4 separate regions of the Homo sapiens genome follow, and all the other regions are linked to region 1. Evidence: promoter capture Hi-C in human tissues and cell types (Jung and others, 2019). All regions are on one chromosome and are shown on one strand. Each heading gives the region's core, a stretch centred on a gene start or on the middle of the fragment in contact. The rest is flanking DNA. Distances are from core to core; before and after follow the strand shown.

Region 1 (7,598 bases), core at 3,861-6,360:
AGCTTCTCCTCTACCTGGCCTATAAGCCTTTGGCTTCTGGAGCCTCCCTCCCATCAATCCCACTCTCACCATTGACTTCCTGGTTGCCAGGTGCCTCACCTTTTATTTTCTTTCTTTTTTTTTAATGGTGCTACAGCAATTTATCAGTGTTCTTGAAATTCCATTCTGTGGATCCCAGGACCCCAGCACTCTCCTGGTTCGTGGTCTTTCCCACTCTCTCCTAGGATAGATATTTTAAAAGATTCTGCTCTTATTCCTCAGCTCTTTCACCCTTCTGTTCTCTCTAGCTCAGCAAAAGCAGTCATACCTGGGGCTTCGTGCTATCTCCCCCAACTCAGAAAAGAATTCCCAGCACTCTCTCTTCTGCCCTGACTCTGTCTCTCCAACTCAATTTACATTTTTCAATTGCCTTCTGGCCATTCTCTCTCTCTTCTTTTTGAGATGGGGTCTCACTCTGTCACCTAGGCTGGAGTGCAGTGGCGTAATCATATCTCACTGCAGCCTCAATCTCCTGGGTTCAAGTGATCCTCCTACTTCAGCCTTCTGAGTAGCTGGGATCACAGGCATGCAGCACCACACCCAGCTAATTTTTCGTAGAGATGAGGCTTCACTATGTTAGCAAGGCCTCACTATGTTAGCAAGGCTGGTCTCGCAACTCCTAGCCTCAAGCAATCCTGCCTCGGCCTCCCAAAGTGCTTATTACAGGTGTGAGCCACTGCCCAGCACTATTCTCTCTTAACTGCACACGAGGACCCCCGACTCATAGTTCTAAAGCCAGATTTTGCTGTCTTAGTTAACATGATCACCATTACCCATGTTGCTCAGGGCCTAAGCCCCAAGATCATGTCCACCCCCAATCTACAAGTGGCCACTTTGACTTACCACATTCTCCCCTGGAAAGTCTCTCACAGTTAGCTTTCCTCCCCATTTTAAGTTCCAACACCACCTCAGCTTGCCTCTCTCTTTTTTTTAAATGACTCCCCACACTACAGCAGTTGCTTTTTGTTGCTCTTCTTGCCCCTCAACTCCATCCTTTCCAATCCAACCTGCACCATGTTGAGAGACAATTCTCCATGAATATCTCACATCCTGCACTGTCTGGGTCTCTGAGCAAAGACATTTATATCAATTTTAAGAATGTTTCTATAATGAGCCTTTCCAGAGTAGTAAACCTGGGAGACAGCTCCCTCCAGAGAGGTTCTAGGGTGGTAAAGATCAAGACCTCACCTTCTCCTCCTCAGAGGTTTACATTCCTAAGATAAGGTCTCTCCAGAGAGAAGTATGGACAGGCCACCACCAGCTCACAATAAGATGGACGCGTAGTTCTGGAGTTCCTTTCTTGTAACGCATCCCACTGCATGTACAGGCAGTAACATCTGGCCTTCATTATGTTGTCCTGTGGGGTTTGGGCCTTGGGGAATCAAACTGGACTACCTTGTTAACTTCTAAGTTGGGTAAAATCTCGGACGCTAGAGTTTCTGACTTAACACATCACCACTAAATTATCTTTATGAAGATCTGCTTTGGCCACGTGACTTCCCTGCTTGAAATCCTTCAGTGGCTTCTCACTACAGAATACAATTCTTACCTGTCACCTTTCCAGCTGGTCCTCCCACTTCTTATGTAAACCCTGTGCTCCTGTCAATCTGGACTACAGGATGTGTTCCATACACAGGCATTCATATCTTGCCTCATGTTTCTGGCCATGCCTGAATGCTATACATAGATTGCAGAAGAGATAAAATTTTATCCATGAAGCACCAGTGCCTAGGCTGCCCACAGCGACCTCAGAATGGTGACCCCACCATTTCCTTCTTCTAGTATGTTGCCATGGCTCCTTCCAGGTAGGCTGATGGGAAGTCAGCCTGCCCTCTGCTGTAGTCATAACGAGCTGAACTGATGACCAGTGCTGGGGCCCAAGGTGACTGCACTCTGGTTGGACATCTGGGAAATGAACTGCCCCTGGGAATGCTTGGCTTGAAACTGTCCAACAGGATAGCTTTCAATTTGATGGCAGCCAAAAAACCTACAGAGCTCCTCTCTTTAAGAAGTGTCAGGGGGTGGCCAGGCGCAGTGGCTCACGCCTGTAATCCCAGCACTTTGGAAGGCCGAGGCAGGTAGATCACGAGGTCAGGAGATCGAGACCATCCTGGCTAATATGGTGAAACCCCGTCTCTACAAAAAATACAAAAAATTAGCCGGGCGTGGTGGCGGGTGCCTGTAGTCCCAGCTACTCAGGAGGCTGAGGCAGGAGAATGGCGTGAACCCGAGAGGCGGAGCTTGCAGCGAGCCGAGATTGCGCCACTGCACTCCAGTCTGGGTAATAGAGCGAGACTCCGTCTCAAAAAAAAAAAAAAAAAAAAAGAAGTGTCGGGTTAAGGAGAGGCAACTCATCTTCTAGTGAACAAGTGAGTTTTAATTTTGGTTCTCCCCTAAGCTCTACATCTTAGTCTTAGCTTGTCCCACACTTCTGGGTATTCTTGCAATAAACTCCCAAGCAAAGACAACATGGGCATGTATTTTCTTGCAGCCTCAACTGCTTAATTCAAGTGCTCTCCCCACTGATCTCTGAGACACATGTACAAAGACGTTGGTAGATGCATTGTTTGTAATGACAGAAAAATGTGTCCACTAATATGGGCTGGTTAAGTGATCGTATTCATCAAATATAAGATACATCCCAATTTAGAGACATTAAAATATCAATCAAATGGCCTACAGTAGTTACATGATGTAGTTGATTCTTCTAATATGTGAAAAAATGTGGGTCTTAGACTTGGAGAACTAAGGTATGGTGTATTCACACAGTGGACTACTTTGCAGCTGGGGTAGGTAATGGCACAAAAGGAGGTGTGTGTCGTGTTACCTGTAACAACCTGAGCTTGAAAAGTAAACAGTCTTAAACCAAGTGGTGAACACACGCATATAGTTTAAGTATTTTTACAGCTTTTTGTTTGTCTAAGGTATGTTAAACATTTTTCTTTTTTTTCCCAAGATAGAGTCTTGCTCTGTTGCCCAGGCTGGAGTGCAGTGGCTTGATCATGGCTCACTACAACCTCCACCTTCCAGGTTCAAGCAATTCTCCTGCCTCAGCCACCCGGGTAGCTGAGATTATGGGCACCGTCACCACACCTGGCTAATTTTTGTATATTTAGTACAGACGGGGTTTCACCATGTTGGCCAGGCTGGTCTTGAACTCCTGACCTCGTGATCCACCCGCCTCAGCCTCCCAAAATGCTGGGATTACAGGCATGAGCCACTGTGTCCGATATGTTATACATTTTTATATATATACATTCTGATATGCTATATACAGTTATACCCAGCCAATATGTTACACAGTTTTCTCTCACTGGGCCTAGCAACATTTTTGTTATGTTATACATTTTGTTATACATTTTTTCTAACCGGGCCTAGCAATCTGCTTTATCTCCCTTGTTCTGTGGGAAACCTTGTGTTCAAGTGATAGCTTAAAAATCAATTCTCGGCTGGTGGCGGTGGCGGTGGCTCACGCCTGTCATCCCAGCACTTTGGGAGGCCAAGGTGGGCAGATCATCTGATGTTAGGGGTTTGAGACCAGTCTGGCCAACATAGTGAAACCTCATCTCTACTAAAAACACAAAAATTAGCTGGGCGTGGTGACGGGCGCCCGTAATCCCAGCTACTCGGGAGGCTGAGGCAGGAGAATAGCTTTAACCCAAGGGGCGGAGGTTGCAGTGAGCCGAGATAGTGCCACTACACTCCAGCCTGGGCAACAGTGTTAGACTCTGTCTCAAGAACAACAACAAAAAAAAAGACAAAAAAAAAAAAAAAGAATTCTATAAATAAAGGAGTTGAGAGAAACATTCACTGTCCCTTATCTCTACATGTTGATTATCAGAATAAAAAGAATTCCAGCAACATCAGTCATGGGCACAAAGCCAACCCGTAAACATTTACAGAACTCGATGATTACCCAAAACTCGGCTTGCTTTCTCAATACTACTGACTTTGGCTTCACATTAGCCACAGGTGTGTCTAGAGTTAAACAAGGTCAACTTTACAAAAAAAAAAAAAAACAAACTGATACTTGGGCATAGTTTAAAAAAAACTTAAAAGTGTGTGTGTGTGTGTGCGTGCGCGTGTGTGGTGGGGGGCGGGGCATTTCAATATAAATGCCTTAAACACAACCTTCCTGGCTATTTTATAAAATGGGTTGAATCTCTAAGGACACATATTTCCTAAGACCTCGACTGATACACAGAGTGCAAACTTGGGAGCCAGACTAGACTGCCTCAGAATCATGCCAGCTGTGTGGCACTGGAAAGTCACCTAATTTTGCAGCGCCTACCTTCACCTCTGTAAAATGGGGAACAATAATAACTAATTTATGGATGCTGTAAAGATCTGAAATTTTAAACTCAGTAATGCGCCTGGCACACATTAGACACGGGTGTTTCGTTTGTCTTGGCAAAGGCTTCGGGTTTTGCGACAATAGCCTTGCTGCCTCCGGAGCAAGCATCTCTCCTTGCCCCCTCTGGGGCATTTAAAAATGACCTCAATTCTACTCTCAATTATGTCCAGTTCAACAGTTACGTGCAGGTTACAAAGCCGAGGAAGCTGAGGTATCTTCTAAACTAACATAGCACGTACAGAATTTTTTTAAAGTTTGGTGGAGGAATCGGCAGCACAAGGTAAGCTGCGCTCTGTTCACAGACCTGGGAATCAGAACTCCGGCCGCCGCGGCCTCCAGGCGCCTCTCAGCTAACAGACTTCCTGCAGCAGGGGGAGGGGCGGCCAGCTCGCTGCAAAAAGCCGCAGGACCCCCTCACCCCGCCTTGCCGCCCCCGCTCCCACTCTCTGGGATGGGGAGTGCAGGGTCTAGGCGATGGCACTTACCAGCGCGAAGTGCACCAGCGCGTCGTAGCAGAGCCAGATGAGCGCCCCGCGGTCCGCCGCCCCCTGCCCGCGGCCCAGGCGCAGGCCCAGGGCGCAGCCCGCCGCCAGCAGCGCGGCGCACAGCAGCAGCGAACCGCCAGCCTCGGCCCCCAGCTCCCACTCAGCGCCCATGCTTCAGGCTTCCGACGCCAACGGCCCAGGACCATGCGGCAGAGGAAAGCAGGGAGAGAAACGACGGGGCGGGGCTGGCCGGGAAGGGGCGGAGCCGGATGGCCAAGGAGGAGCGGAGCTGATTGGCCAAGGCGGTCCGGGGAGGGACGGGGCTCCCCGGCCGGGTCGGGGCCAGAGCGAGGATTCCGTGCCCGCCTCGCACCCTGGCCAGCCTGCTGAGTCCGGTGGTTTTGCCAGGTGCCGCCCATGGAGGTTCCGTAGAAGGAACGTGCTCACCAACTTGCGCAACCGCCTCGACCAAACCTGTTCCCAAACCGAGCCCAAAGGATTGGTAATAGGGCCACACCTTTTGATGTTGTTTCGCTTTTAACAAGGCTCAAACTTTAAGCCACAAAGTGAAGCCTAGGTAGTGGAAATTTTGCCAGTAGACCGGGGCAGAATTTTAGGGGCAAAAGGTTTTAATTAGGCTGCAGCAAGCCTTACCAGGGAGGCTGGGGGCCAAGGGAGTTTTCAGCCACCAGCCGGCTTAAAGCCTTTATGGCCTACTCTGACAATCTTTCCATTTCTTAAAAATCCAGAAAAGTAGAAGGGTGGGTGAGAGGAGCGGTAAGTCCTATTGGCTTGGCGATAGATGCGTTTAACCTGTGGCAGGCCAGGTTTCACTATCGCAGGCCTCCATCACAACTGCTTCAGCACTGAGTGGTTAAATTAAATATTAAAAGCTGAGGCCGGGCGCGGTGGCTCACGCCTGTAATCCCAGCACTTTTTGCCAAGGCGGGCGGATCACGAGGTCAGGAAATCGAGACCATCCTGGCTAACACGGCGAAACCACGTCTCTACTAAAAATACAAAAAATTAGCCGGGCGTGGTGACGGGCGCCTGTAGTCCCAGCTACTCCGGAGGCTGAGGCAGGAGAATGGCGTGAACCCGGGAGGCGGAGCTTGCAGTGAGCCGAGATCGCGCCACTGCACTCCAGCCTGGGCAACAGAGCGAGACTCCGTCTCAAAAAACAAAAAAAAAATTAAAAGCTGAAAGAGTCAGTGCCCATATACCAAAGTCTGGAATGTAACAAAAGCCCACCAAGAGTTTTGCCTAGGCCTTTCTTGGGCCTTGAAGCATGACAAGATAACTAAGGAATTTTTAACAGGACCCGTTTAGGATTAAACAAGTTTTATTGGGGGTCTGAAGAAACTCCCCAGGCCTCCAAAAACAAGTTTATTGGGAGTCTGGAGGAATTCCACAAGCCTCCATGATTTAGCAAGAGACAAAATAAGGGTAATCATCCCAGCACCCAGACCTATTTAGATTAAGTAAATTTACTGAGGCTCCAGAGGAAGGTCTTCAGGATTAGAAGTTGTTAATCACTTACGTCTTTAGATGAATGCACTCTTACACGTAGACATATAGCTTAGAAGGTATATACGCTCTGGAAAAACTTTGTAATTATGAGTTGGTCTGGCAATAATTTCCAGACCTTCTCCCTGTAACCGGTTGCAGAAATAAAAACTCTTCTTCCCCAGTTCATCTGCACCTCATTATTGGGCTGCCCAACCCCCAGTTTGGTCCGGGAACAAACCTACATTATTTAACATCACAACAACCCTATGAGGTCGGTGAAATAAGCCAGTCACAAAAACATACTTATGATTCCACTTACAGGAAATATCTAAAATAATCAATTTGCAGAAACAAAATAGAATGATGGTTACCAGGGGTGGGGCGGGGCGGGAGTGGGGGGGGGGCGCGGGGAAAAGTGGAGTGTTATTTATTCGGATAGTTTGATTTGCAAGATGATGTTCTGGAGATTGGTTGCACAACAACGTGAACATACTTTACTGAGCTGCACACTTAAAAATGGTTAAGATGGCAAATTTTATGTGTATTTTACAGTTATTAAAAAAAATGCTGGCACTGAACACAAGAAATTTTTCCCTTAGTCACTTCCTATACCATTTTTTATAGCAGTTAACACCAGATAGAATGATCCTTGTTTACACACTTATTGCTAATCTCCTGCCACTATAATGTAAGTCTTCAAGGCCAGGGGTTGTGGCTAGCTTTTTTATTGCTGTATCCCTGGCACCTATTACAGAGTTTGGCATATATTAGCTGCTCAGTTAAATAACTGGCGACTGAGTATGGTCAATCTAGCCACCTATGCTCTGGATCCTGTCCTGTAACTAACTTATCATCCTTTAGGGACCACTCGGCCCACCTCCCCTTCAGAGCAAAATAGAAACTTAATGAAAAAACTGATCAGATCCCCTGTCTTCATGTCTTGACCCTGCTCCTCAGTCCTTTCTACTCTGGTTTCTGCCTTATCACACTGATATAGCTCTCACTAAGGTGACTACTGGCCTCCACATCACTGAACCCCAAGAACAGTTCATTTTCTTAGTGTAGTTTACTTCTCAGCAGCATCCCAGCACTGAAATATTTTTCCTTTGGTTTTCTGAGAATACAGCCTCCTTAGCCATTCTGTTTCCTTTGCAAGTGCATCTTCCACTACAAATGCCTAGTGAATGCTGCAGCTCCACAACCCAGTCCTC
Region 2 (7,142 bases), core at 2,652-5,151, 230 kb after region 1:
CTCAAGTAGCTGGGACTACAGGCACGTACAACCACACCTGGATAATTTTAAAATTTTTTGTCGAGACGTGTTCTCACTATGTTGCTCAAGGCTGGTCTTCAACTCCTGGACTCGAGCAACTCTTACCTCAGCCTCCCAAAGTGCTGGGATTACAGGCATGAGTCATTGCACCAGTGCTGCTTTTATAGTAAACTACAACAAATGTAATTAAATTAGTTCTTTTTTTTTTTTTTCTTTTTTTTGAGATGGAGTCTTGCTCTGTCACCCAGGCTGGAGCACAGTGGTGTGATCTCGGCTCACTGCAACCTCTGCCTCCTGGGTTCAAGTGATTCTCCGCCTCACCCTCCTGAGTAGTTGCGATTACAGGTGTGTGCCACCACACACGGTTTCACCATGTTGGCCAGGCTAGTCTTGAACTCCAGACCTCAAGTGACCCACCTGTCTTGGCCTCCCAAACTGCTGGGATTACAGGCATGAGCCACCGTGCCTGGCCTAATTAGTTATTTTTCTTTCTTTTTTAATTTTATTTTATTTTATTTTTTTTTGTGGAGACTAAGTCTTGCTCTGTCGCCCAGGCTGGAGTGCAATGGCATGATCTCGGCTCACTGCAACCTCCATCTCCTGGGTTCAAGTGATTTTCCTGTCTCAGCCTCCCATGTAACTGGGATTACAGGAGTGCGCTACCACGTCTGGCTAATTTTTTGTATTTTTAGTAGAGATGGGGTTTCACCATGTTGGCCAGGCTGGTCTCAAACTCCTGACATCAAGTGATCCACCGGCTTCGGCCTCCCAAAGTGTTGGGATTATAGGTGTGAGCCACCACGCCAGTCCTAATTAGTTCTTATTATAACCCAAATTTAAGAACTTAAATGAGAAAATATTTTTAGACTTACAAAACCAAAGGCAGAAAAATCATATACCTGTTTACTTAAAGTTGATAATACAAAATAGGCTGGACACGGTGGCTCATGCCTATAATCTCAGCACTTTGGGAGGCCGAGGTGGGCAGATCACTTGAGCTCAGGAGTTCGAGATCAGCCTGGCCAACATGGTGAAACCCCATCTCTAGTAAAAATATAAAAGTTGGCCAGGTGCTCACACCTATAATCCCAGCACTTTGGAAGGCCGAGGCGGGCAGAACAGAAGGTCAAGAGATCAAGACCATCCTGGCCAACATGGTGAAACCCCATCTCTACTAAAAATACAAAAATTAGCTGGGTGTGGTGGTGCGTGCTTGTAGTCCCATCTACTCGGGAGGCTGAGGCAGGAGAATCGCTTGAACCTGGGAGGCGGAGGTTTCAGTGAGCCAAGATCGTGCCACTGCACTCCAGTCTGGCGATGGAATGAGACTCTGTCTCAAAAAAAACAAAACAATACAAAAAAACCCCAAAAGTTAGCTGGGTGTGGTGATACACACCTGTAATCCCAGCTACTCTGGAGGCTGAGGCACGAGAATATCTTGAACCCAGGAGGCGGAGGCAGCAGTGAGCCAAGATCACAACACTGCACTCCAGTCTGGGTGACAGAGTGAGACTCTGTCTCAAAAAAAAAAAAAAAAAAAAGTTGATAGTATAAAAAATAAAGCAGAATGGATTGATAAAGACATTGTGGTTATGTTTTTCTAAAAAAAAAAAAAGAAAGAGACCTTTTTTTCGAGATACAAATAAAACATTTATGAATAAAATTATATATTACCTGGCATTTGCCTCAAAATAACCCAAGGAGGGTAAGTGAAGAACAATAGCAGCATTGGGGGTGGGGGGGTGTAGATGAAACCCGATTGGTTACAAGTTGATAATTGTTTGAAGCTGGCTGATGGGTATATGAGGGTTTATTATACTATTCTTTTTACTTCTGTACATGTTTGGAATTTTCTATAATAAAAATTAAGGTAGGCCGGATGCAGTGGTTCATGCCTGTAATCCCAATAGTGGTGCACACTTGTAGTCCCAGCTACTGGGGTGGCTGAGGTGGGAGGATTGCTTGAACCCAGGAGTTTGAGGCTGCAGTGAGCTGTGATCGGGCCACTGCACTCCAGCCTGGGGGACACAGCAAGACTCTGTCGCAAAACAAAACAAAACAAAACAAAACAAAACAAAAAAACAAAAAATTAAAGTTAAAATTAAAATTCTAAGTCACTATTTCCCTCAGAAGAGCATTAACATTTAAGGAATTTTGTAAGGGTTATTAATGTACAGTCTACATAAAATTCCCATCTCTAATTCCAAAATATTATTTATAATTATGTTTCCTGGCCATGCAATCATTCCCAATGACTTGCAGAAAAAGTTTTCTAAATTCAGTAAAGCTTTTTGAAACTTTCTAAAACATAAAACTACATGTTGAAAAAGGGAGTACGGTTATTGCATATTTAAGTGTAATCATTGTATTTAGCAAGTTTATTTTAATACATGGGGAACAGAAACTATCCTTAATCCTGCAAAGTGGGATTGTAATATCCTACCGACTACAATCCATATAAAAAGGTCCTTATGGCTGGGCACGGTGACTTATACCTGTAATCCCAGCACTTTGGGAGGTTGAGGTGGGTGGATCATCTGAGGTCAGGAGTTTAAGACCAGCCTGGCCAACATGGTGAAACCCCATCTCTACTAAAAATACAAAAAGTAGCCAGGCGTGGTGGCAGGCACCTGTAATCCCAGTTACTCGGGAGGCTGAGGCAGGAGAATCGCTTGAACCCAGGAGGCGGAGGCTGCAGTGAGCTGAGATCGTGTCACTGCACTCCAGCCTGGGTGACAGAGTGACACTCCGTTTCAAACAATAAATAAATAAATAAAATAAAAAGGTCCTTATTAACAATGTGTCCAGATTTCTAGATGATAGCTATAAAAGTAACATACACGCTGATATGGTTTGGCTGTGTCCCCACCCAAATCTCGTCTTGAATTATAGTTCCCATTATCCCCATGTGTTGTGGAGGGACCCAGTGGGAGGTAATTGAATCATGGGGGTGGTTACACTCATGCTGTTCTTGTAAAAGTGAGTGAGTTTTCACAAGATCTGATGGTTTCATAAGGGGCTTTCCCCAACTTCGCTCAATCTTCTCCTTCCTATTGCCATGTGAAGAAGGATGTGTTTGCTTCCCCTTCCGCCATGATTGTAAGTTTCCTGAGGCCTCCCCAGCTCTGTGGAACTGTGAGTCAATTAAACCTCTTTCCTTTATAAATTACCAAGTCTTGGGTATGTCTTTATAGCAGCATGAAAACAGACTGATACACACACCAAACAAGTTAATATGTATGTAATAATACATTAGAAATATTTTTGCTTACCATAAACAACTGGATACACTGTCCCTCGTATACCTGATGCTGGACAATGCATGTTTTTTCCATTCAAGTATACATTTAATTCGACATGGTCATAAGTAATACCCTAGGAAGGAAAAAACAGAAACGTTCCATAAAAGCTGAGCCGTCAGAAAGCATTGACTGGGAAGTATGGAAACACAAAAAGCTAAGCATAGGCTGACAACAATTTTCATTAAGGGTTGACAATTTGGTAGAATCCTACTTGAACTGAGCTAAAAAAATGAGTAGTGATTATGAGGGGGGATAAAGTCAGGTAACATCCCAAGAGTCCACATTAGAGGTAAAACAAAGCCAACAGTTTAAATCCTAGAATTATATTTGTATAATCTGGATTTTATATTTTGAATGCTAAGATAATATAAGTACTACATACCATGAATAGAGAAACCTTTTACACTCATACAGAAAACGCTGCTCTTTCTCTACAGAATTTGATCTAAAGAAGGAAAAACAATGAGGTTTTTTTCACTGTCAGGACTTACTACCTGTCACTGTTTTCAAATTATGAAGAAACGTCTCTATACATTTTATTTCCAGGAAGAAATAACACATTTCTACATCTCTTTACTCTGGTTTCAAATGTGTCAAGTGTATTATCAAGGAAAAGCTGGTGTTCACAACTGAATAAAATTGGTAATTAGTTTCAAGTTAAAAAACAAAAATAGTAGCTCAAATGATTTAAAAAACAATGTAATAAAATTACTCGGTACACTATTGATGGAAAAAAATCACAATTAGTGATATTAATAATTATTGTTAAAATAATTATTTTATAATTATATAAATAAAATATTTATTTGTATAAATATAAATTATTTATATAAATAAATAAAAGGCTAGAAAAGACTTAGCCCATGTTATAAACCAATAGTGCTACTATTCTAGGCAGTTCATATTTACTCATTTAATCCTCACAACAAGACAGTATTACTATCCCCATTTTACAGATGAAGCTAAAGCACAGAAAGATTAAGTAATTTACCTAAGGTTGCACAGCTAGGAAGTGGAAAAGCTGTGATTTAAATCCATACAGTATGGTTTCAGAATCCTTGCTCTTAATCACAATACCTCTCTCTAAATCACCATGCCTCTCTTTAAACACTTGCTCTTAATCACCATATCTCTCTTTAAAACTTTATACAATAGCTACTAACTGATAACAAAAAGAGATCTTTCCCTTGAAAGACAGCAGAGATCTTTCAATAGAGAAGTCATCATAGACCAAGAAGCAAACCACTTCAAGGATTTCAGGATTTCTGACTGTGGATACATTCTATCAAGTTAAAAGCTTTTTAGAGGTAAAAAAAAAAAATTTTATAGATCATCTTAGTCTTAAATTCTCTCTCTTTACAAGCAAGACAGCAAAAGCCCAGAGAAGCTAATGTGGTAAGTGGTATGAAAGATTCTCAATTCTTAGCAAAGCCAGGGTTAACTTAAACAATTATTAATAATTAAGGAATACTGAGAAAGATAAATAGTACATAGATTGCCTTTGCTTCGCTTTAGTTTATGTCTTTAGATAATAGTAATAAAGCTAGCTGATGGCTGGGATTCACTTTTCTAATGAAAAAGTCTGTTTTCATTTTAAAAAACAAAAACTTAATTACATAAAAAAGAAAGTATGTTACTCTCATTATGGGACTACCAGAAATCTAGCAGTTCAGATCAGTGAGGTTGTAATCCAGGCACTTTCATCCCCCAGTGGCCGATTGCAAACAAACAAGTTTGTTTTTTGTTTTTTTTTTGAGACAGAGTCTCGTTCTGTCACCCAGGCTGTAGTGCAATGGCATGATCTTGGCTCACTGCAACCTCCACTTCCCAGGTTCAGGAGATTCTCCTGCCTTAGCCTCCCCAGTAGCTGGGATTACAGGCGCCCGCCACCATGCCTGGCTAATTTTTGCATTTTTAGTAGAGATGGGGTTTCACCATGTTGGCCAGGCTGGTCTTGAACTCCTGACCTCAAATGATCTGCCCGCCTCGGTCTCCCAAAATGCGGAGATTACAGGCGTTGGCCACCGCGCCCAGCCTCAAACAAGCAAGTTTTAAACCCAAGCCTGCAGTAGCAAAATCCCAGTACCAAAGAAGTGAGGAAAGATGTGAGAAGTCCCACCCTCAGTATAGTTTAGTTCAAGTATTTTCTTTCTTTTTTTTTTTGAGACTGGGTCTCACTCTGTCGCCCAGGCTGGAGCGCAGTGGCGCGACCTTGGCTCAGTGTGATACGCCCGCCTCAGCCTCCCGAAGTGCAGGGATTACAGGCATGTGCCACTGTGATGGGCCAGTTCAAGTGTTTTCTAACCTAATCTATTCTATGATGAAGAAACTGGGTTTGATTCTGCCAAAATGATAGCAAAATATACTGTGTGTTCTATGTCTTTATTAATAATTGTGTGCAGGTTAGTGAACAGATTCTGAAATTAGACTGCTTCAGGTATGATCTTGGTTTTTGTTTTTGTTTTTGAGACAAGGTCTTTTTTTTTTTTTTTGAGGCAGAGTTTCGTTCTTGTCGCCTAGGCTGGAGTGCAATGGCGCAATCTCGGCTCACTGCAACCTCCGCCTCCCAGGTTCAAGTGATTCTCCTGCCTCAGCCTCCCGAGTAGCTGGGATTACAGGCATGCACCACTACGCCTGGCTAATTTTTTGTATTTTTTTTAGTAGAGACGGGGTTTCTCCATGTTGGTCAGGCTGGTCTCGAACTCCTGACCTCAGGTGATCTGCCCACCTCGGCCTCCCAAAGTGCTGGGATTACAGGCGTGAGCCACCGCACCCGGCCAGAGACAAGGTCTTGCTCTGTGTGGCCCAGGTTGGGTGGAGTGCAGCGGCAGGATCACGGCTCACTGCCGCCTTTATCTCCCAGGCTGAAGCAGTTCTCCCACCTCAGCCTTCCAAGTAGCTAGAACTACAGGGGCATGCCACTATGCCCGGCTAATTTTCTTTTTAAATTTTATTTATTTATTTATTTGTTTGTTTGTTTGTAGAGATGGGGTCTCACTATGTTTCCCAGGCTGGTCTCAAATTCCTGAGCTCAAGGGATCCTTCTGCCTTGGCCTCTCAAAGTGCTAGGATTACAGGCATGAGCCATAGTATCTGGCTGAGCTATATAGTCTTGTAATTAACTCACATAAGAAGTTACTTAATTTCTCTTAATCTGTAAAATGGGGATAATAATACTACTACCGTACGGGCGTGGTGGCTCACACCTGTAATCTCAGCACTTTGGGAGGCCGAGGTGGGTAGATCACTTGAGGTCAGGAGTTCCAGACCAGCCTGGCCAAAATGGTGAAACCCTGTCTCTACTAAAAACACAAAAAAATTAGCTGGGAATGGTGGCAGGCACCTGTAATTGTAGCTACTCAGGAGGCTGAGGCAGGAGAACCGCTTGAACCCGGGAGGTGAAGGTTGCAGTAAGCCGAGACTGCATCATTGCACTTCAGCCTGGGCAACAAGAGCAAAACTCCATCTCAAAAAAAAAAAATAAATAAATAATAATAATAATAATAATAATAATAATAATACCTATTTCAAAGGGCCATTATGAGCATTAAACAATTTAATCCTTGCCAGGCACTTAGAGCAGTGCCCATAATAAATGCTTAGGTCTGGGCACGGTGGCTCATGCCTGTAATCCCATCACTTTGGGAGGCCAAGGTGGGTGGATCACGAGGTCAGGAGTTCGAGACCAGCCTGTCCAATATGGTGAAACCCCGTCTCTACTAAAAAATACAAAAATTAGCCAGGCGTGGTGGCACGCACTTGTAGTCCCAGCTACTAGAGAGGCTGAGACGGGAGAATCGCTTGAATCCAGGAGGTGGA
Region 3 (7,179 bases), core at 3,331-5,830, 250 kb before region 1:
TCTTGCCTCAGTCTCCCAAAGTGCTGAGATTATAAGTGTGAGCTACTGCAACTGGCCATAAACATATTTATTTCATGTAATGTATATTTCTAATAATCGAAATCTCTATAGATCTCTTTCAGTTGTTTGCTGTTTCTGCTGACTCTTGCTCTTGGTGTTTTGATGTTTTCTCCCTTGTTACATTTTGTAATTTTAAAAAATGTGTATGAGCTTATTTGTTAGAATTTTAACTACAATTATTTGATGAATGCATTGATCGTACATTCCTCCATGGAGGATTTTTTTATTGTTCTTACAAGGTACCTGAGAGTATTACAGACTGAGGTCCAATTTAAATTAAAATCCTCCACTTGTGGAGTTTTAGAAACTGTAAAAATTGTGTAAATTAAGGCCCCAAATTCAAGTGAATGTGAGCTGATAACCAAGAATTATTAGGGAAGATTTTAAGTCTACCCAGAACTGAATATCTTTGCAAGATGGTCTCTGACCAGGCTTCTTACCTTTATATGGGACCCAGGGATCTTTTTCTCTAGTCCTCATCCTGCTCCTTACACAAAGCTTCAATGCCAACAGAAATCCATGGATGCCCCCAAAGTATTCAATGACTTCAGCACCTGCTTATCTCACAGGATATATTATACTTGTTTTGTTTCTAGCCCCAGAAAGTTTCCCTTATTTTCTTAATGGGCTCATCCATTCATGTTAAAGGATATTTTTTATACTGAATCTAGTACTTTACATGTTTGGTGGAGGGAGGAATTCAGGCTCTCTAGTCTATCATATTGCTACAAATCAGTCTACTATTTCTGCAACTGCTTTATAACATTTAAATACAATATTATATTTATTCCTGATACATTTTATTTTGGTATGTTGAGCATAGTCTACACGTCTGTCGAGAGCACTTAAAATCTTGATTGAGTCATCATACTAGCTTACCTTAGAAGTTGTATATCATTTGCAAATTTGTTTGAACCTTCTTAGCTTTCACCAAAGTCACTGATCACCACAGCTTCTGACAAAAAGAAAAGCTTTAAAATTAATTTTTAAAGTCTTTATAGTAAATCCAACATATTTTCTTATTGCTTTCAGGTATACAGAATTACAAATTAAATTTCCATCATAATCAAATACTAATACATCAAATTAAAACAGGTAAATTTTCATATCCCAATAACTCAAGTGGCAGACCTTTCAAACAGTAGTATTGAACTGAATGAAAAATATATTTATCATCAAGGGAAACCAGTGGAAACATAAAGCGTTAGTTTGGGTAAAGGGCGCTCTAGTACCTCTGAAATCTCCAACAGCCCCCATCTTCAAAAGGAAGAAACACAATTTATTTAAACTAGTATCTTAAAGGTCAGTGTTTACAAAAAGGCTGTGGGAAGGCTTTCCTGACTGAAGGATGCTTTCTTCCCCTTAGATGTTCAGTAAAATTTTAGCTCTTTCATATTTCTATTGTTTCCTAGCACAAAACATAGAAGAGCACTGAAGGGTCATAAAGGGAAGCTTTGAAGGGTTTCTTGCTTTTAACAACATCATGAAAACCCATGCCTGCTAGATTTTTTCTTTTCTACTCCACCACTTTTAGTTCGCACCTTTACTAATTTCAGTCACCAGCGACAATTTCTGTAAAATCTATCTCCATCACAAGAGTGTGTATGCGTGTGCTTGTTTCCCCATCAGAAATAAGAGAAAACTTACGCTTCTCTCCTTTAGTGCATTGCTCTTGCATGAAGAATGAACAAACCACTGATTTGGGGTTCGCATCTTTACGTTCTGAACAGCAACTTAGAACACTTTGCTCCTGATATTCTTTCTTCTCAATATTTGATGGATATCCTGCAATAATGTAGGAAAAACAGCACAGGCTTTGGAGTCACATCAATCTGGTTTTAAATCTCAATCTTCTACTTAGTAACTGGCTAATCTGAAGCAAATTTTTAATCTCTCTGAACCTAGTGGGAAAATAAGATGGGTCTCAATGTACAGCTGCAAGAAACAAATGATATAGCATATATATATAGTGTCAGCAAAGTGTCTACCATATAACACAAACTCTATTATGTTAGCTTTCCTGTGTAATTTTATGCTTCATTTTCACTTTACTCAGTCAAACGAATTTCCAGACTAAATTTTCTTACGTTATAGCCTTGATAAATTTTATGGTTTTGTCCAACAACTATCAACATTTTAGGCCAGGTGTACTGGCTCATCACTGTAATACCAGCACTTTGGGAGGCCGAGGCAGGAGGATTAGGCCTGGGAGTTTGGGACCAGCCTGAGCAATATGGTGACACCTTGTCTCTACAAAAATAAAATTAAAAAAAATAAAAAATAAAAACATTTTGCAACACTTAATGCCTTCAAAATAGCAGCACATCAATACTACTACTACTACTGAATATATCCCACCAAGAAAGTACATTTCAAAATCTATGTTCTAGAGCCACTAGAATTTGTTCCTTTTTGTGTGTGGTTATGTCACCAAAATGCGATATAGATGTGTAAACTTGTTTCATTTCCTTTTCAGATTTTTCTTTCATTCTACTTTTTTATTTAATCCCACTTTTGAATATGTAGACATACATGATGATTTAGGGTTAAAACTATAGAAACAACTTCCATTTAGAGAAATCTCTCTTCTGTTGTTGGCACCTTTACCCTGCTCCTTCCTTCTGCGGATACATTGCATACTTTTCCATGCCTTTGTTTTTTCCACTTCCTATTGTATTCTACAGATCATTCTCTATTGGTATATAGAGACTTTCTCCCTTCTTTTTTATGACCTCTATGGAAAGACGGTGACTTGGAAGGGGCACAATCTACCTGCAGACTGTTGTACTGTCTGGATGCACCTTAGTTTATGCAATCAGTTCTCTATTAATGGGCATTTTAGTTATTTCCAATCTTTTGCAAATGCAAGTAATATGCTGCTATGACTAACCTCCCTTTGACTATTCCCTCCCATGCAGTTTATGCTTATGTATCCTTACCAGCAATGTATCAAAGTGCCTATTTCCCCACAGTCTACAGGGCCTATTGTATAACTTTTGGATTTTGTTGAAAAATGCTTTAACATAGCTTTAATTTATATTTTTCTTTGTATGACTGAAGGTGGAACATCTTTTATTTTTGAGATGAAGTCTTGCTGTGTTGCCCAGGCTGGAGTGCAGCGGCATGATCTGGGCTCACTGCAGCCTCCGCCTCCCAGGTTCAAGCAATTCTCCTCCCTCAGCCTCCCCAGTAGCTGGGATTATAGGTGCTCACCATTACACCCAGCTAATTTTTGTATATTTAGTAGAGGTGGGGTTTCACCATGTTGGCCAGGATGGTCTCAAACTCCTGACCTCAAGCGATCTGCCCACCTTGGCCTCCCAAAGTGCTAGGGTTATAGGTGTGAGCCACCACGCCCAGTCTGGAACATCTTTTATATGTCTGTCATGTGCATTTCTTTTTCATATCTTTGGCCCATTTTCCTACTGGGTTGATGGTCTTACTTGCCTGGAATTTTACGAAGGTGTTTTCATCCAGGAGGTTAGCTCTTTGTGATATAAGTCCAAATATTTTTCCCCGCTTTGTCGCTTGCCTTTTGACTTTGCTCGTGGCATTTTTCACTATTTAAATACTTTTTTATTAATATAGTAGGATTTATCATGGTTTTTCTTTAAGAATGAGTCATAGTTATAAAATCTTTGGCTTATACTTTCGTAGACTTTAAACATGTTGTTCCATGGCTGTTTTGCTTTGTATGTTGCTGTTTAGAAGTCTGTTGCTAACCTCTCCTTTCTGTCTGGAAGCCCAGAGGAATTTTTCTTCATCATTTTGAAAGTCCAACTGTTTTACTAGGACATGACTTGGAACTGACCATTCTGGATCAATTTTCCCAGTACACAATGAGCCTTTTCAACATGTAGATTGGAGTCATCTCTTATTTCCAGAATGTTTTCATGGATTGAAACTTAACTATTAGCTTTGCTATTGTTTTTTTCTTCTTAGGAACTCTACTTTTACTTATTTTCTATATCAATCACTTTCTATTACTTTTTAACCTTTCTTCATTTAATTTTCATTATCTTGGTTGTTTTCATACCTTTTCTCAATGCTCCTTATATTCAGTCCAATCTTTTCTTATGTACCTTGGAATTTAGCTTCATTTCTTTCTTTATGACTTTTTTTTTTTTTTTTTTTTTTTTTTTGAGACAGGAGTCTCTCTATATTGCCCAGGCTGGCCTCAAACTCCTGGGCTCAAGCCTCTCAAATAGCTGGAACTACAGGCATGCACCACTGCATCTGGCTTTAACTTCATTTTAAAAGCTGATTTTTCTTTTGATTTATTTTATTTCCTGAGTTCAGTAAATTCACTTTTCATATCTTCCTCTTTTTGTCCATTTGTTTTGCAGTTTTGAATTTGGATTTGAGACTTTTTATCTCTACAAATGTTAGTTTAAGGATATTTTAAATTCTGGTAGGAGTACTGTGCTGTAGTTTTCTTTAGTGCTATAGTTGGATGTTTCGGGAAGACTTTTCATCAGCTAAAATTTTTTAAAAACTTTTTTCCTTATTTTTTGTAGAGACTAGGTCTCACTATAGTGCCCAGGCTGGGCTCGAACTCCTGGGCTCAAGTGATCCGCCCACCTTGGCCTCTCAAAGGGCTGGGATTACAGCTGTGAGCCACTGTGCCCAGCCCAGTTGAAATGTTTTGACTATCATTTTGTTTTCCAGCTAAAGTAACTTTATATGGATGTTGCCTGCCATCTTCTGTTCATCTTGAAATATTTTATTTTTCCTAAACCAGATATAGTTGTGTATAGGCAGAAGCAAGGAATTTAGATGACTTAACTGGATTTCTTAGTAAATAGTACCTAATAAAGTGTTTTTTTGTTTGTTTGTTTTTAATTAATGACTCCTTTTTGGGTGGGAGAAATGAGTATCTATTTTCTATTCTGGTTCACCAAGATCCTTAATTTCTACTACCCCTTCTCTCTATCACCAAGCCTCCAGGTAGATGGTGACCCTTCCAAGGCACCCTCTTTCCTTTCCCCAGAAGCAGTACTTTCATGAGACTGCGTCTTTGGTCTCATTTTCTTTCAAGTCTCTTATTTTGTCTAATGGATCTTACACCTCTTCTCACTTCTCTATCCAGGGTGGGGCTTTCTCTTTCTGGGAATTATCTGTATTCTGCTACCCCTAGGTCCTGCAACCTCTCCTCTTTTTTTACAGTCTCCACCTTGCTTGCCACTTCTCCATGGATTCTGCTAGACTGCAGTGTTGATTTCCCTGCATGCCCATAGACATTTTGCTAGCTATTAATGTATGCTTACATATCAATAAATTTGTATGGGTTTTCTCTTGTTAACCTACTGTTAGTTTAGTTCAGCCAACTCAGTTATCAAACCTTCAGAAGCGAAATTTAAGCTTCCCTGCAAATTGCTGGTTATTATTTAATATTATTTTGACACAGGGTCTCACTCTGTTGCCCAGGCTGGAGTGCAGTGGCGCAATCACAGCTCACTGTAGCCTTGACCTCCTGCGTTCAAGAGATCCTCCGACCTCTCTCAGCTTCCTAAGTACCTGGGACTACAGGTGTGTGCCACTACGCCCAGTTAATTTTTTTATTTTTTATTTTTTTTAAGAGACAAGCTTTCGCCATGTTGCCCAGGATGGCTGGTCTCAAACTTCTGGGCTCAAGCAATCTTCCTGCCTCAGCCCCGCAAAGTGCTGGGATTACAGGCATTAGCCACCGTGTCCAGCTGGTATTATTTTTATTAGTGTTCTATCTTGCACTTCTGAGTATGTTTAAGCTTCCACCTGTCAGCTTCAAGGGCTTTTTTCTCCCAGCTAATGCCTAAAAGGCAAACAACCTTATTCTACTTCTCATTCACCCTCCTCTTTTCCTCCCATTTTTTTGCGGGTTATATTATTTCTACAATGTCAGACCATGTAATATTTATATACTATTCTATCATCATTATCCTCATCTTTTAATCTTGATGCTACACACAAAATATATTTGATTTGCTCACCACCTGACCTTATGTTGAAGATTTTCCAATCATTTCTTGGTTGTCTGAAATTTGTTCTCTAGTATACGCTTCAGAAGGATTCATGGGAACAATTATAGCCATTTTCCTTGAATTATTTCATGTTTATAAATGTTTGTCAATGCCCTGAATTCTTGAAGGGTAGTTTGGTGAGATAGGAATTATTTTATTTCTTTGAATAAATACTTTCTTAATATCTGACATAAAATGTTGCCACCAAAAATCCAATCTGATTTTCTTTGCAAGTGACCTGCTCTTTTTATTTCCCCCATCAATGCAAGAAGGGTTTATTTTTAAAAATCCAACAATTTTACAGGACCACATCTCAGTGTTAACTGTTGTGGGTTGATTTCTCCAGGTTTACAGTATGCCTTTCAACATATGTTACATTTAAACCTACTTTAATGTTAAGCGTTCTTGAATTACAGTCCTAATAGTTGTTCTGGTCCATTGCTTTGGCTTGCTTTGTTTTACTGTAGTAAAATAAGGAACATAAAATTTACTGTTTTAAAGTATTCAATAAGTGGCATTAAGTATATTCAGTGTTACATAAACATCACCACTATCCTTGGGCTTACATTTGGGGAACTCCATTTATATTTATTCTGGCTCTCTTTGCCTGTCTTGTCACCTCTTGACTCCTTTTTAAAAATCTTTTTATTTTCTTCATTTTTCCATTTTTCTTATCGTACTTTCTGTGATGTATATTCACTCTTGGTTTCTAATGCAATCATCACTTTAAACTGTCTTTTTCTTAATCTTTTATTGAGTTTTGTCTGCTCTCATTGCACCTCCTTCTATGGTCTAGCCATCTCATTTCTTTTTTTCCCCTGAAAACATAGAAAGAGGTGAATTTTATTTACTTTTTTATAATTTCAAGTTCTCTTTTAGATTTGGGGGTACATGTGCAGATTTGTTACATGGGTATACTGTGTAACGCTGAAGTCTGGAGTATGACAGATCCTGTCATCCAGGTACTGGGCATTATACTCAACAGTTAGTTTTTCAACACTTATTGCATTCCTTCCCTGCATAGTATTCCACGGTTCATATGTAACCAATCTATCCCTGATGGACACATAGGTTGATTCCACATCTTTGCTATTGTGACTAGCACTATGATGAACATATG
Region 4 (6,683 bases), core at 3,832-6,331, 210 kb after region 1:
GCAAGTGAGGCTGAAAAATATCATTATTCCCTATAACCACGTGGTCAGCTAAAAACAAAAAATTGCATTACTAAAGAAGAGTAAAACAGAACAGATATTGAAAGATAACAAGCAGTCTCTGACGCAGCATCTAAGAATAATTATTCCTTTTCCTGATATCCTGAGCACTAAGATCTAGCTCAAAGTTCAGCCTTCACTTTGACAGCCATTAGAGAAAGTAAATGCACTTCATAAACTAGGGAAATGAGAATTAATGAATCTCAGGGTTCCCCTCCGCCCTTTTTTTGGAGACGGATTCTCATTCTGTCACCCATGCTGGAGTGCAGTGGAGCTGCGATCTTGGCTCCTGAAACCTCCACCTCTGGAGTTCAAGCGATTCTCCTGCCTCGACCTCCTGAGTAGCTAGGATTACAGGTGTGTGCCACCACACCCAGCTAATTTGTGTATTTTTAGTAAAGACAGGGTTTCACTGTGTTGGCCAGGCTGGTCTCGAACTCCTGACCTCAAGTGATCTGGCCACCTTGGCCTCCCAAAGTGCTGGGATTACAGGGGATTACAGGGGGAGCCACCACACCCGGCCTTTTTTTCCCTTTGTAAAAACCCTCTTCATTAATACTAAGAGTGTTCTTGAAAGCTACAGAGAAATAAATCTCCCTTTCAGTGAATTGATAAGGCCCTGGTTATTTCCTCTTTACTTCACAAGATTTTTTTTTTTTTTGAGACCGGATTTTGCTCTGTTGCCCAGACTGGAGTGCAGTGGGACAATCATTGCTCACTGCAGCCTTGACATCCTGGACTCAAGCAGTCCTCCTGCCTCAGCCTCCCCAGTAGCTGGAATGACAGGCACAGTCCACAACACCTGGCTAATTTTTAATGTTTAATTTTTTGTTGTTGTTATAGATACAGGGTCTCACCACGTTGTCCAGGCTAGTCTCAAACTCCTGGGCTCAAGACATCCTCCCACCTCAGCCTCCCAAACTGCTGGGATTAGAGGCTTGAGTCATCATGCCTGGCGCACTTCACAAGATTTAAGACATTGTCTCAGATTCTCAACATCTCCTGGACCTTGGCCACAGCCTCCTATTTGTTTTCTTGTCTCTGCTCTCTCCCTACTCCAAACCATTGCCTACCCTTCCGCTGGAGTTACTAAATCTGCCTATGTAAAACTCTCCTTTGGTTCCTAGAGGATAAAGGATTACTTCCTTAGCCTACATATGAGACCCTCCACTGTGGGTCCCAGCCTCCTTTCACCCCTGCCCCTGCCTACCGCTCACTGTTCCCTGGCCAGGCCTGTGCTTGTGCACATTGCTTCCTCTGCCTGGAATGTGCGTCTCTTTAGGTTGAGACTATCCTGTTTATCTCTGAAAAACTGGTTCTATTCCTCCCCCATCCCAAGAAAGAACAGGTAATTGTTCCCTCTGCTATGTTCCCATTACACTTTCTTTGTAGAGTCACACTGTAATGATCTCTTCACAGATCTCTTGTCCTGATCACTCTGTAAGCTCCTCAGAGGCAAAGAACATCATGTCTTACCAAGTTACCTACATACCAAGGGCTGTCTGGTGCCTGACGCAAACAGAACAGAATGAAGTAGAGGCTCAGCAAAAGCTAGTGGTCGGCCAGGAGTGGTGGCCCATGTCTGTAATCTCAGCACTGTGGAAGGTCAAGGTGGGTGGATCACCTGAGGTCAGGAGTTCGAGAACAGCCTGGTCAGCATGGTGAAACCCCACGTCTACTAAAAATACAAAAATTAGCTAGGCGTGGTGTTGGGTGTATGTAATACCAGCTCCTCGGGAGGCTGAGGCAGGAGAATTGCCTGAACCCAGAAGGTGGAGGTTGCAGTGATCCTAGATCTCATCACTGCACTCCAGCCTGGGTGACAAGGTGAAATTCCATCTCAAAAAAAAAAAAAAAAAAAAAAGCTGGTGGTCAGATCGATGGAAACAAATTCATGAAAATGTTTCCTTCAACCTGAGAAAGCTGATTAATAAAAGAAAAACATGTAAAATAAAATAAAATGTTTCTGTCTGGCAATGATCAGAATCATATTTGCTTTTCTTTTCTTTTCTTTTTTTTTTTTTTTTGAGTTTCTCTCTTGTCGCCCAGGCTGATGTGCAATGGTGCAATCTCGGCTCACTGCCACCTCCGCCTCCCGGAGGCAATTCTCCTGCCTCAGCCTCCCGAGTAGCTGGGTAGGTGCTCACCACCACACCTGGCTAATTTTTGTAGTTTTAGTAGAGAAGGGGTTCCACCATGTTGGCTAGGCTGGTCTCAAACTCCTGACTTCAGGTGATCCACCCCCCTGGGCCTCCAAAAATGCTGGGATTACAGACATGAGCCACTGCGCCTGGTGCATATTTGCTTTTCTTAACTAGGTTGCACTTAATACCTATTATAGTCAACAGACTGAGTTGAAGTCTTAAGAGACACATCAAACATTCACTTATTCACTCAGAGGGGCCAGATTTGGTGCCAGACCTCTAGTGAGGAGGCCACTAGAGTAACCTGGGGGAGAAATGGGTGGCTCAGCCACTAGAACCAACTAAGAAGACCACAATTATTAAAATTTTAATTATTTATTTAGAAACAGGGTCTTGCTATGTTGCCTGTGCTGGAGTGCGGTGGCTATTCACAGGCATGATCATAGCTCACTAAGCCTCAAACTCCTGGGTTCAAGCCATCCTCCAGCCTCAGCCTCTCAAGTAGCTGGGACCACAGGTGCATGCCACTATGCCTGGCTTAAAAGACCACAACGTTTTAGAGCTATCTTCTAGTGGTACATCTGCAGTTTTACCTTTAGTAACAGTGCCACATTCTTCTTCATTCTAGACCACTGCATTCTGAGCCATCAGTATAAACATTTATTTCCCTGAATGAGATGAAGCCAAAGACCTACTGCCTTAATAATGGACAGACAGTGGAACAGAGCATGAAATAGCTGTTTGTCCTGAAAAGGGTTTTTTTTTTTTTTAGGAAACAGCAGAGACTGTAAAGATGCTGAAGCCTCTGTCCCTCTTCCCTGGAGACCAACAACCTTCATTTCCAGTCTCAGTTCCTGTGCTGTTCACACGGATGGTCCAGTGATGATCTGGTTCCCATCCATCCAGCCTATGAATCAGGGAGGAAAATGAACAGTGGTACTGATTGAGGGAAGCTTTCTTGAGGTTTTCTGTTTCCTTATGAAGTATCTGGATGACAAGCTTCCCTTCAATGCATTCTCAGGGGCTTGGTCTTTACCCAGAGCAGAGGCTGAGAAAATTATTAAGATTTCTGAAGCAGTCTGTCCCACCCTAACACATCACAAATGCGAGCATTTGAAGAACAAGAGCCACATGCAGTTATTTATTTATTTATTTATTTATTTATTTATTTATTTACTTACTTATGACAGAGCCTGGCTATGTTGCCCAGGCTAGAGTGCAGTGATGCAATCTTACCTCATCTCTGCCTCTGGGGCTCAAGTTATCCTCTCACTTCAGCCTCCGGAGTAGCTGGTACTACAGGTGCACACCACAATGCTCGACTAATTTTTTGTAGAGACAAGGTTTTTCCCTGTTGCCCAGGCTGGACTCAAACCTCTGGGCTGAAGCAATCCTCCCGCCTTGGCCTCCCAGAGTCGGGGGATTACAGGCTTCTGCACCCAGCCGCCTTCTCTTTTTGTTAATAAACTCTTTGCTGTGCACAGCTGAGAGTGGGGACTCAATAAATGTCAACAGAGGATTGTGTTTTTACAGACAGATGGACGTGGAAGAATCCAGAAACACTGGTGTTACTATGGTTTATTTAGTTTGCTGGATTCCAACACCAAATGAGAGAGGTATTCTATTGTAGAAAAACAGAAATCCTATTGGATATAAATTTAATGAAAATCTCGAGAACTATTCAGAAACAACCAAATAAAACCATACTTAAGAGTATGTGGGCTAGGTGTGGTGGCTCACACCTGTAATCCCAGCATGTTGGAGGCCGAGGCAGGTGGATCACCTGAGGTTGGGAGTTGGAGACCAGCCTGACGAACATGGAGAAACCTCGTCTCTAAAAATACAAAATTAGCCGGGCGTGGTGACCCATACCTGTATTCCCAGCTACTCTGGAGGCTGAGGCAGGAGAATCACTTGAACCCTGGAGGAGGAGGTTGCAGTGAGCCAAGATTGCACATTGCACTCCAGCCTGGGTAACAAGAGCAAAACTCCATCTCAAAAAAAAAAAAAAAAGATTATATGAAGTTTAAAACTTCATACCTTTAAGTAAGATTATAATGTTCTTATAACATATTAGCCAGCTGAAGCGGCTCACACCTATATCCCAACACTTTGGAAGGCTGAGGCAGGAGGATCGCTTGAGCCCAGGAGTTGGAGAATAGACTGAGCAGCAACATAGGGAGACACACACTCTATAATCTTTTTTTTTTTTTTTTGAGATGGACTTTCACTCTTGTTGCCCAGGCTGGAGTGCAACGGCGTGATCTCGGCTCACCGCAAACTCCACCCCCGGATTCAAGTGATTCTCCAGCCTCACACTCACAAGTAGCTGGGATTACAGGTGCCCGCCACAATGCCTGGCTTTTTGTATTTTTGTATGTTTTTTTTTTTTTTGAGACAGAGTCTGGCTCTGTCACCCAAGCTAGAGTGCAGTGGCATGAGCTTGGCTCACTGCAACCTCCGCCTCCTGGGTTCAAGCGATGCTTCTGCCTCGGCCTCTTGAGTAGCTGGGATTACAGGCATGCGCCACCACACCCAGCTAACTTTTTAGTAGAGACGGGGTTTCACCATGTTGATCAGGCTGGTCTTGAACTCCTGACCTCGAGATCCACTCCCCTCGGCCTCCCAAAGCGCTGGAATTACAGGCGTGGGCCAATGCGCCCAGCCCACATTTTGTATTTTTAGTAGAGACAGGGTTTCACCATGTTGGCCCGGCTGGTCTCGAACTCCTGACCTCAATTGATCCACACCACTTGGCCTCCCAAAGGGCTGGGATTGCAGGCGTGAGCTAACATGTACCAACTACAAAATTGTTTTTTTTACTTGTTAGGTGTGGTGGTGAGCCCCTCCTGTGCATACACCCTGTGATATATTATTCGTAATATCTAAAAGATTTTACTCCTAATATCACAGTGGGTGTATACCAGTGATATTATTCATAATATCTAAGGGAGATGATACTACTCCTAATATCACAGTGGGTGTACACCCTGTGATATTATTCATAATATCTAAAAGAAGATATTACTCCTATTATCACTGTGGGTGTACACTCTGTGATATGATTCATAATATCTAAAAGAAGATATTGCTCCTAATACCACGGTGAGTGTACACACTGCGATACTATTTGTAATATCTAAAAGAAGATATTATTTGTAATACCTAGAAGAAGACATTGCTTTTAATACCACGGTAGGTGTACACCCTGTGATACTATTTGTAATATCTAAAAGATATTATTTATAATACCTAGAAGTAGACATTACTCCTAATATCACAGTGGGTGTATACTCTGTGATATTATTCATAGTAGCTAAGGGAGCTATTACTCCTAATTTCACAGTGGCTGTACACCCTGTGATATTTTTTATAATATACAAGGGAAATATTACTCTAGCATCACAGTGGGTGTACACCCTACGATGTACACCCTATGATGTTTCTTTTTTTTTTTTTTTTTTGAGACTGAGTCTCACTCTGTCACCCAGGCTGGTGTGCAGTGGTGTGATCTCAGCTCACTGCAATCTCCGCCTCCCAGGTTCATGCCATTCTCCTGCCTCAGCCTCCCGAGTAGCTGGGACTACAGGTGCCTGCCACCACGCCTGGCTAATTTTTTTGTATTTTTAGTAGAGACAGGGTTTCACCGTGTTAGCTAGGATGGTCTCAATCTCCCAACTTCGTGATCCGCCTGCCTTGGCCCCCCAAAGTGCTGGGATTAAGGTGTGAGCCACTGTGCCCGGCCTAAGTGTGATATTTCTTTTAATGTCACAGTGGGTGGACAGTCTGTGATATTATTCGTAATATCTAAGGGAGATACAACTTCTAATGTCACAGTGGGTGTACACCCTGTGATATTATTCGCAATATCCAAGGGAGATATTACTCCTAATGTCATAGTAGGTGTACACCCTTTAATATTTTTAGGAATATTCAAGTTAGATATTATTCGTAATGTCACAGTGGGTGTACACCCTGTGATATTATTCATAATATCCAAGGGAGATATTAGGACTAATATCACAGTGGTTGTACACCCTGTGATATTTTCAAAATATCCAAGGGAGATGTTACTCCTAATATCACAGTGCATTTATACCCTGTGATCTTATTCTTAATATCCAAGATTGATATTACTCCTAATATCACAGTGTGGGTACACCCAGTGATATTATTCATAATATCCAAGGGGGATATTACTGCTAATATCACAGTGGGTGTACACCCTGTGATATTATTGCTAATATCTATGGGAGATATTACTCCTTTTATCACAGTGTGTGTGTATACCCTGTGTGTACATCCTGTGATATTATTCGTAATACCTAAAAGATATTGCTAAAAGCACTCCTTGTGGTTTGCGCATGTTGAGATGAAAATGAGATGGAGGTCATGATCTTTTTAAGGGTGGAAAAGCATGAACACAAAGTATCATTTCATAAAGCCAATTGCAGCATCTCTGTCCATGGGGCTTCAGGGGAA

What was found. Contacts are between HindIII fragments. The study calls those that stand out against the background at their distance.
Region 2: a fragment that was not itself captured here is called in contact with the fragment with the promoter of EBPL in region 1 in 4 of the 25 tissues and cell types used here (IMR-90 fibroblasts, aorta, bladder and 1 more).
Region 3: a fragment that was not itself captured here is called in contact with the fragment with the promoter of EBPL in region 1 in 1 of the 25 tissues and cell types used here (bladder).
Region 4: a contact is called between a fragment that was not itself captured here and the fragment with the promoter of EBPL in region 1, in 2 of the 25 tissues and cell types used here (bladder and mesenchymal stem cells).

Annotation. Positions count from the first base shown.
Region 1 is chr13:49,686,376-49,693,973 of GRCh38, forward strand. It overlaps EBPL (EBP like), which reads right to left and starts at 5,111. Exons shown (of 4, transcript NM_032565.5): 1 at 4,879-5,111. The coding sequence starts at 5,049. RefSeq lists an enhancer at 4,406-5,403 and silencers at 4,867-5,006, 5,037-5,236. The HindIII fragment of the contact is 15,697 bases long and covers 1-7,598 here.
Region 2 is chr13:49,918,185-49,925,326 of GRCh38, forward strand. It overlaps SPRYD7 (SPRY domain containing 7), which reads right to left. Exons shown (of 5, transcript NM_020456.4): 4 at 3,294-3,396. Among named protein-coding and RNA genes, the nearest start is that of SPRYD7, 15 kb to the right of the region's middle. The HindIII fragment of the contact is 5,717 bases long and covers 1,044-6,760 here.
Region 3 is chr13:49,432,379-49,439,557 of GRCh38, forward strand. It overlaps CAB39L (calcium binding protein 39 like), which reads right to left. Exons shown (of 11, transcript NM_001079670.3): 2 at 1,708-1,845; 3 at 940-1,015. Among named protein-coding and RNA genes, the nearest start is that of CAB39L, 8.1 kb to the right of the region's middle. The HindIII fragment of the contact is 6,619 bases long and covers 1,272-7,179 here.
Region 4 is chr13:49,894,566-49,901,248 of GRCh38, forward strand. No RefSeq gene overlaps it. Among named protein-coding and RNA genes, the nearest start is that of SPRYD7, 38 kb to the right of the region's middle. The HindIII fragment of the contact is 7,505 bases long and covers 1,330-6,683 here.